3 separate regions of the Homo sapiens genome follow, and regions 2 and 3 are each linked to region 1. The links are contacts of gene promoters, found by promoter capture Hi-C in blood cells and fetal thymus (Javierre and others, 2016). All regions are on one chromosome and are shown on one strand. Each heading gives the region's core, a stretch centred on a gene start or on the middle of the fragment in contact. The rest is flanking DNA. Distances are from core to core; before and after follow the strand shown. Region 1 holds the start of CYP2R1 (cytochrome P450 family 2 subfamily R member 1). Region 2 overlaps FAR1 (fatty acyl-CoA reductase 1). Region 3 holds the start of BMAL1 (basic helix-loop-helix ARNT like 1).

The links. Contacts are between HindIII fragments. The CHiCAGO score rates a contact against its expected background, and 5 or more counts as called.
Region 2: a contact is called between a fragment that was not itself captured here and the fragment with the promoter of CYP2R1 in region 1, in 1 of 17 cell types (M0 macrophages). The highest score is 5.2, in M0 macrophages.
Region 3: the fragment with the promoter of BMAL1 here is called in contact with the fragment with the promoter of CYP2R1 in region 1 in 1 of 17 cell types (monocytes); the score reaches 6.7 in monocytes.

What each region holds. Positions count from the first base shown.
Region 1 is chr11:14,890,965-14,893,664 of GRCh38, forward strand. CYP2R1 (cytochrome P450 family 2 subfamily R member 1) reads right to left here and starts at 1,267. Exons shown (of 5, transcript NM_024514.5): 1 at 1,017-1,267. The coding sequence starts at 1,241. It also overlaps a transcript of PDE3B not described here. RefSeq lists a silencer at 775-1,014. The HindIII fragment of the contact is 6,013 bases long and covers 1,231-2,700 here.
Region 2 is chr11:13,670,524-13,673,223 of GRCh38, forward strand. All of the region lies in intron 1 of FAR1 (fatty acyl-CoA reductase 1), which reads left to right. Among named protein-coding and RNA genes, the nearest start is that of FAR1, 3.2 kb to the left of the region's middle. The HindIII fragment of the contact is 2,365 bases long and covers 254-2,618 here.
Region 3 is chr11:13,276,540-13,279,239 of GRCh38, forward strand. It overlaps BMAL1 (basic helix-loop-helix ARNT like 1), which reads left to right and starts at 1,251. Exons shown (of 20, transcript NM_001297719.2): 1 at 1,251-1,384. RefSeq lists silencers at 852-1,501, 1,572-1,641, 1,922-2,261. The HindIII fragment of the contact is 3,232 bases long and covers 1-2,700 here.

The DNA.
Region 1 (2,700 bases), core at 17-2,516:
CCGATAATGAGATTAGTTTTCTCTCTCCCACTCATCTGCCAACTCCTTAAAAGGCTGTATCTGCCTTCTTCACCGCTAGCGTCAGGCCTGTAGTTGCATATAAATAAGTGTAATTCAAAACAAAACAGGTGAGCTCTGTCCCAGGACCCGTGGAAACTCCTGCCCCCTCCGGACGTCGGGACACCCACACACAAGCGGTGGTCGCCTTTTCCGCTGCCAGTCACAGGGCATTTCCGTGCTGCTTTCCCCTCCGCAGAATGAGGAGGAGCGAAGTACCGACCTCACCGGCTGGTTATGAGTTTTAAATGAGTCACCAAGTTGGCAGTGACAGTGGCACACAGAAGGCGCCTTTTAAGTATCTGCTAAGGTGCCGTTCCCAGCCAGTCAGAACGGCATTACCATCTGCGCTGTAGGACCCCCGCAGCGGATTTTAGTCATCAATTCATTCACGCGTTCACAATCGTTTCCCAGGGCCCGCTTCTCAGTCAGGGGCGTTCCCCTGCATTCTCCATTCTCACAGCAAACGCCTACACCAGTCGTTCGTCGACTGCAGACACCGAAGAACCTGCTATTAACCATCTAGAACTCAGAACGCCTTGATTTTCCGACAAGCCGCGTGCAGCTTCCACAGAGCTGCGAGGCCGACTCGCAAGACGCCCGCACCTGAGGGCATGCGTCCACCCTGGACCTGAAGTGGCGGCGCGGCTGGCGAGCCAAACGGCGCAGGCGCAGGAGCAAGAGCTCGAGCGGTAGCGGGAAAATCAGGACTGGATCGCCTCGGAGCCTCGGCCCGGAGTGGGTCACCGGCAGGGGCGGGGCTCCCCCTGCAAGGGGGCACGGCGTCGAGGACTTCTCCCTTCCAGACCCGGGAAGCGGGTGTCCCTCAAAGGGCAGCCGGCACACGGAGAGGTCCCGACTAGTCGGCCCAGGGGCGGCCATAAGTCCAACCAGGAAGGCCCTGGCCAGCCCGGGCCAGCCTGGCGGCCCTCCCTGCCCGGGGCCCGTCGGGGCTGTACCTCTCCGTACACCTGGCTCTGCTTTCTCATGTAGACATGGGGAAGCTCGGATGAGGCTGCCAGGGAATAGATGTTGCCGATAAATGGCAGCCCCGGCGGCCCCGGGGGGAAGCCCATCGGCCGCCTCTGCTTCAGCAGCTGGCGGACCCCTAGCGCGAAGAGCAGCAGGAAGAGCGCGCCGCCGAGCGCCGCCGCGCCCTCTTCAGCTCTCCAAAGCTTCCACATCGGCCCGAGCTGGAGGTGCGAACTCCACAGCAGCCCTGAGACCCAGGCACTCCCTCCAGCCCTGCCATACTCCCATTGGCAGGATACCCTCAGGTCCCGCCCTAGCTCCGTGGCCATTGGCTGACTGAGTGAGCGCTCAGGCCCCTTCGGGACAACTACCTTCTAGTTTTGCGCGGCTGAGAGTGGACTTTGCGGAGCGGGTGGCCGGTGCTACCCTTTGGAGGTGGCGCGGCTCTAGGCGGAGCAATGAGCCAGGAGTCCGTTTTCTAGAATGTTGACACAAGGGCATTGACGAGGTGTCAGGACGGCCTCACTCACTGGGCTAGGCGGATCCTGCCTCTCTGGGGCCAGACCTTTCTTAAAGTGTCTTTTTAAGTACCAGGTCTGCTTATTTCATTTCACACTAGGAAAACTGGAGAGATGATCAACACTGCAGTCTTTAGCTGAACCTGATACTTTTCAGAATTTCCAGTAGAAAATTGACCCATCAGTAGTAAAAGAAAGTAATTTTACTGTTTTGTCCTGTTTTACTATTTTTCTCCTGTTAATGTATTTTTGTGTGTGATCTTTTAATAATTGTGATGATTGAGCAGTTTATGTGATTAACTCAGTTTACCTATATTTGACCCCTCTCTGGTCTTTCCAAACTGATTACTTATTGGCAATCACGGGACTCTTGTCTGCACTTGTTCACGGAGAGTATTTACTATTCAAGATTTCTGCCTCCACTGCCTGGAATTAAGCAACTGATTTCATATTATTCTTGCTAATTGTTTTTATTCCTGTTTTCTATTGGGCAGTTCCTTGCAATACAGGACTTACTGGGTTTGGGACTCTTCTAACAGCTGCCCTCTAATTGTGATTTAGCAGTGGCATGAGTTTTATGGTCCTCATTAGCTTACGACTCATTCACACAACAAATATTTATTGAATGTCTACTATGTTCCCATGTCCTAAGCAATGGAGATACATAGGTGAATAAGAGCAACAAAGTCCTTTCTATAACTTACATTCTTATGAGAGGGAAGAGCAATGACATGGAAATACAATAATTTTCAATAATCAGAAGCAAACAAAAAGTGCGTTATAGAAAACGCCTGGTGGTTGGGGAGATACTTTAGCAGGCAAGGGCTGTCAAGGAAAGTCTTATTAGGAAGATGACATTGGAGCTGAGATCAACTGCTAAAGAAGTGTATTTGTTTCCTACTACTGTTGTAATAAATTACCACCAATCTGATGGCTTAAAACCACACAAATTTATTTTCTTACAATTCTTGAGGTGAGAAGTCCAAAATGAGTCTTCCAGGGCTGACAGAGAGGTGTTAGTGGGGCTTCATTCTTTCTAGAGACTGTAGGAGAGATTCTATTTCCTTGTCTTTTTCAGCTTCTAGAGGCTGCCCACATTCCTTGGCTTTCGTCCCCATTCCTTCCTCTTCAAGGCCATTAATGTCAGTTTGAA
Region 2 (2,700 bases), core at 186-2,685, 1.2 Mb before region 1:
TCAAGAGATCCATCCGCCTCGGCCTCCCAAAGTGCTGGGATTACAGGCGTTAGCTGCCGCGCCGGCCAAAATTATTCCATAAATTTATCCATAAAAATTCCACATAAATTTTCTGGAGTTTGATTATGTATTAGGCTTGTTGGGAAATTTATTACCCTTGTGAAGAATTTTGTAGCTAAGTAGCTTGAGGGTTTTTTTTTTTTTTTCACTCAGGAAAGACATGGTATGTATGCATCACTGCTATTCTATTTGAAGCTTTTGGAATTTTTATTTATGGGGTGTGGATAGAGGCTGGAGGCAGAGACTGAGGTCAGAGAAGAGGTAGTAGAAAAGAAGGTGGCCCACTACCATATTTCCAGTGTATTTAAATGGGAGATAGAGTTTCTGTTTGAGGATAGGACAAAAGGTTTGTGAAGAGTTATAGAGTCAAGGACAGAAGCCAAAGAGAGCATTTGCTGTGTAACATGTTTGCTTGTTAACCAGATCAGCAAAGCATTTTAACTAATGGACCATTATTTATGATCTAGAAACAATTTTGTGAAAGCGATTTCTTAGTGATGCTGTTTACTGTGATCACATTTGCCCTTAGTATAACAATACCTAAGTGCTGAGGCGACTTGCAGTAGAGAAGTAATCTGAGTGGCGTGGAGTGAATCAGGGAAGGTTTCCTGAAAGAGGTGAGTTTTGAGCCATCATGTGAACTAGAAGTTGGGATGTGGGTTATTACAAGACATGAGGATGACATTCCAGTAGTTTGTACTTGGTATAAGCAACTGTGGACAAGAGTGACAAATTAAAAATGGTTTTTAAGGATGATTGAAGATTCGAATGAAGATTTAGGGGTTTGGAAATCAACCAAGGCTATGTTGCAGCTTAGCTGATAAATAATTTTTTATGTTGGTTAGGAGAGAAAATTAACAGTTGATAATGGATTGGAGATAGGTAGTAAAGGAAAGAGCATAAAATATTTGATAGTTATAGGAGAATGAAGTGAAAGTAAGGTTATTGAGAGGTAGGTTTAACAGTCAACCATATATCATAAGTTGGAAACATTTTTGAGTCCTGTGCTAGAGTATATTGATAATAATAGCAAAATTTATTGGGTGCTACTTTGTGGCAGACACTGTTTTGAACCTTCCAAATATTATCTCATCTTCTGATTATCTGTATTTTATAGATGAGGGAGATAAGACTCAGAGAGATATAACTTGCCCAAGGTCACACAGCTAGGAGGGGACAGGTCAGGATTGGCAGAATCAGTCAGTAAATGTTAATTGAGCATCTGCTTGATGCCAGGCACTGTAGTAAGTGCTGGGTGTTCAATATTGACAAGAAAATTCAAGTCAGACCTCATCTATTTTCTAGAGATTGTCAGTTTATGTAAGAAGAGCCAGTGAAGAAAGAAAAAGATTAGTTGGAGAGATTTCTGTAGATACTGAGGAATACACTGTTTAGAGAAACCTGGGATAGAGTTTTAAAGAGGTGGTGGTTAGCAACAAAGTATATAGCTGAGAGACTCAGAACGATTGAGAAGAAACCATTGAGTTAAGTAAGTAAAAAAGTAATGTGAATTTAGTCACAAGAAAGCTGGAATGAAGATATTAATGTTTGGGCTGGTAGTTAATTGTGTTTAGTGGCAGGTACTCTATACAAATTTAAATATTTTCACAGTTATGGTCAGATTCATAGGAAAGATGATGGTATGACCCCTTGTAATGTTTTAATCTTTGGCTGGAAGATCATGGATGCTTTAAAATGCTTGCACTTTTTAGTTTTTTCAAATTTAAAAAAATGAGCAGGCAGACCGCCTGAGCTCAAGAGTTCAAGAGCAGCCTGGGCAACATGGCAAAACCCCTTTTCTATCCAAAAAAAAAAAAAAAATTAGTTGGGCAAGGTGGTGTGCACACCTGTAATCCCAGCTACTTGGGGGGCTGAGATGGGAGCCTGGGAGGTTGAGGCTGCAGTGAACCTTGATCATGCCGCTGTACTCCAGCCTAAGTGACAAAGTGAGACCCTGTCTCAAAAAAAAAAAAAAAAGTGAGCATTATTTTTATAATTAGTGGGGACAAGCATTCAACTGAAATGAGCTAATACTCAGGAAAATGTGGGTAGGCTAGTCTGAACTTGGGGTAGGAGAGAAGATAGTCTTATTTCAGTCCCTACTTGGTAAGAGCCACCTTGGTAGGTGTGTTCCTATCTTGGAAATGACTGGATTGTCACTGATGGAAACTGAAACTGTATGTACTGAAAGGTGGTATTTGCTTAACCTGAAGGATCAAGTTACTAACCCACCCTGAATGGTGGAGATACAGTCTTTGTTTTCCTGAACACTTGTTTTCTTAGAGTTTAATACATGAATTTAAGGTTTAAAAAAACCCAACAAACCACTGATAGAATTGTGTCATTTTAACTGCTTCTTTTGGCTTTATATCCTTCTTCCTACACATTGGTTCTATAGTTCCTCTCATTAATGGGTTTGCAACAGGCTTAGAGTTTCAGTTCAGTAAGACAAAATGGAAGTGCTGGATTTAGATATAGCTGATCAACTTAAACACTTATAAATTCACCATTGTTTTCGGTTCCCAATTTGAAGAGTGGAGACAGAAGTCAAGAAAATAAGCTTTTCTTATTCAAAGAATGATTCCCAAACCAATAGGATTTGCCCTAGGATCAGTACAGACTTATTACAGTCTCCTAAAC
Region 3 (2,700 bases), core at 1-2,500, 1.6 Mb before region 1:
CCAGTCTGGGTAACAGAATTAGGCCAATTTATTTAATTCCATTTGTTCATGTATCCAGCCAACAGATATTTATGGTGCACTTGTTGGGTGCCAGCCCCGCCCCCACCACTCCACCCTACCCCAGCAGGCGCTAAAGGAGAGCTGACATGATGGATAACGAAAAAGAAGACGCTGTCCTTCTATTCAGGGAGTTTAACATCTGGAAGAGCCGGGAGTTCTTTGTGCTAAAGGCCCTCTACAAAGTGCCTGAGATGCAAAAATAAGTCACTTTCTCTGTCCTCTCAGCAACCGAGTCGCATGTCGTTATCAAATTTTTATTTTCTGTAACTGTTTCCTTCCGTCTTGCTCCGTAGACAGCTTTTTGCAGCAGAGAGCGCTGCCGCGGGGCTGGTGTCTACTCTTCAGTAAGTGGTCAAAACCTGGCTACTGGAAGGAAATGCAATGGAATCGCTCCGCGCTCGAGTATTCTCTTTGGAACTACGGGAATGACAGCTCCAGTGGGACACTTGGAGGTCATGATGAACGCAAAGAACGTGAGAACACTTGCAGTCCTCGGGGTGGAAATGCCTTCTAGAAATACTAAGTATCCGTTCTCTCGTTGAGACTTTGGCAAACCAGGGATTTTAGGAAGGGTCTGGCACTCAACGTTCCTAAAATTGGTTTCCTAGATGGAGCCGGAGGGAGAGAGGGAGTCAGGAACTGCTGCTTTTCGTCGGAATGCCCGGAGGGGAGAAGAAGAAGGAGGAGGGGTGAGGGCGGGCGGCCAAACGCCAGCCGGCAGGGGACCCAGAGAAGAGGGACATCCCGGGCGACCCCGAGGAGCGCGGCTTGGGCACCGCAGTGGCCGCGGCTAGTGGGAGACCTGAGGGGAAAGGGAGAGGGCAGGGGCGAGGAACCCAGGGAGCGCGCGCGGATTGGTCCTCTCCTCGGGGCGTGCGCTCCTGTGCGCCAAATGATTGGTGGCAGGAAAGTAGCAGGTAAACCGGCTCCCGCCGCCTCGCCATTGGTCAGCGGCCTCTCTAGCCGCCACACAACTGGCCAGCGGGCTGCCGAGCCGCGCGCGGATTGGCTGGGGGCGGCCGCCGGGACCGGCTCCCTTCGGGCGTTCGGATTGGCTGGCGGGAAGAGGCAGGTATCCGGGCGCTGCGGCTCCTCCATTGGTGGGCGGGGAAGGGGGGTTGGGCACAGCGATTGGTGGGCGGGGGGCCGGGCCTGGGCCGGCGGGGAGCGGATTGGTCGGAAAGTAGGTTAGTGGTGCGACATTTAGGGAAGGCAGAAAGTAGGTCAGGGACGGAGGTGCCTGTTTACCCGCGCCGGACTCACCGCCGCCGCCGCCGCGGGATCCGAGTGCGGGCGCGGGCGCGGGCGCTCCCGGCGAGCCACGGTGAGTGTCAGGCCGGCGGCGGCCAGCGACGCGATCCCGCGCACCCCGTCGGGGGCCGTTAGCACCCTCGCGGGCGCTGCGCCCCTGCCGCCGCCCCGGGGGCAACCCGGCCGCCGAAGAACCCTGCCCGACGTGCCCGCTGCCGGCCTTAAAGGGCCCGTGACCGCTCCCTGCCCCCACCCGGGCCGTGGGGAGGCTGCGCCCCTTAAAGGCGCCGCGCCCGTCCGCCCCCATCCTCCTCGCGGGGGCTGCCGCTGCGGGCTAGGGCAGGCAGAGGTGCTGCAGGAGCCCTTAAAGGGGCCGGGAAAGTGTTCGCTGGAGTACCCACCGCCCTTCCGCGGGCATCGCTACCTGGCGGGGGGAGGGGGCAGCTAGCTGCCTCTTAAAGGGATAGCTCTGCCCTTGGGGGCAGTGACTCGGCCGAAGAGGACTCCTAGATGTGTCCCCGGGAGCTTCGGGGATCCCCGAGGGGACCATGCCTGGTGGCTGCCCCTCAAGGGCGTTGGGCGAACGGTGCCGCGTCTGCCCTTCCTCCCCGCTTCACTTCCCTTTCGGGAGCCCGCGAGGCTGGGTGGGGGCGGGGAGGGCGTCTCCGTCGGGCTTGGGGAGTCCAAGTCCGCCCGCCCCTTCGGCCCTGTAGCCAGGGCTGGCGCTGCACCCGGGAATCCCCGGCCGGCACGGGGCCGACCCCAGCCTGCGAACTTTCGTGGGGCCTGTGCCGTCCAGGTCCTGGGCGGCCCTCAAGGATGCCCCGTGGGTCTGCGGGCAGGTGCGCGTCGGCCTGGGGATGTCGCCCGGAGCCCGGGTGCGGGCCGGCCTTGGAGTCCCAGAGCTCCGCGGAGGGCGCAGCGAGCCTGGCTCCAGCTCCGGGTTTGACAGATGTCAGGGAAGAAAAGGTTCCCGCTCGGCTATTGCCGGGCGTTGACATCCCAGAGAGCTTCCCGTTTGCTTGGAAGAAGACGAGGAAGGTAGAGGTGAACGTCGACCTTGTGGGGCGCATGTTAGCCTCCCCGAGGGGTCGCGAGAGCCGGCAGCGGGGTGAGCTCAGGTGCCCGCCGGCAGGAGCTGGGGAGGGAAGGGGAGTGCTGGACACCGGCGCCTGCTGTCAAGTTCTCGCCGGCCGGTGAGAGACCCGCTGCCGCCGCGCACCCCGCACCTCCTGACCCCTCTCCCCTCTCCGCCTCGGCCCCTTCCCGGTCACCTAGCGTTGTTTTGGCGCTTTGGCGCTTGCGGTCTCTTCCTTCTTCCACCGCTACTCCTCAGCGAGGAATTATTAGCCAAGTTTTCTCACCCAGCTTCCAAAAATCAGATTCCGT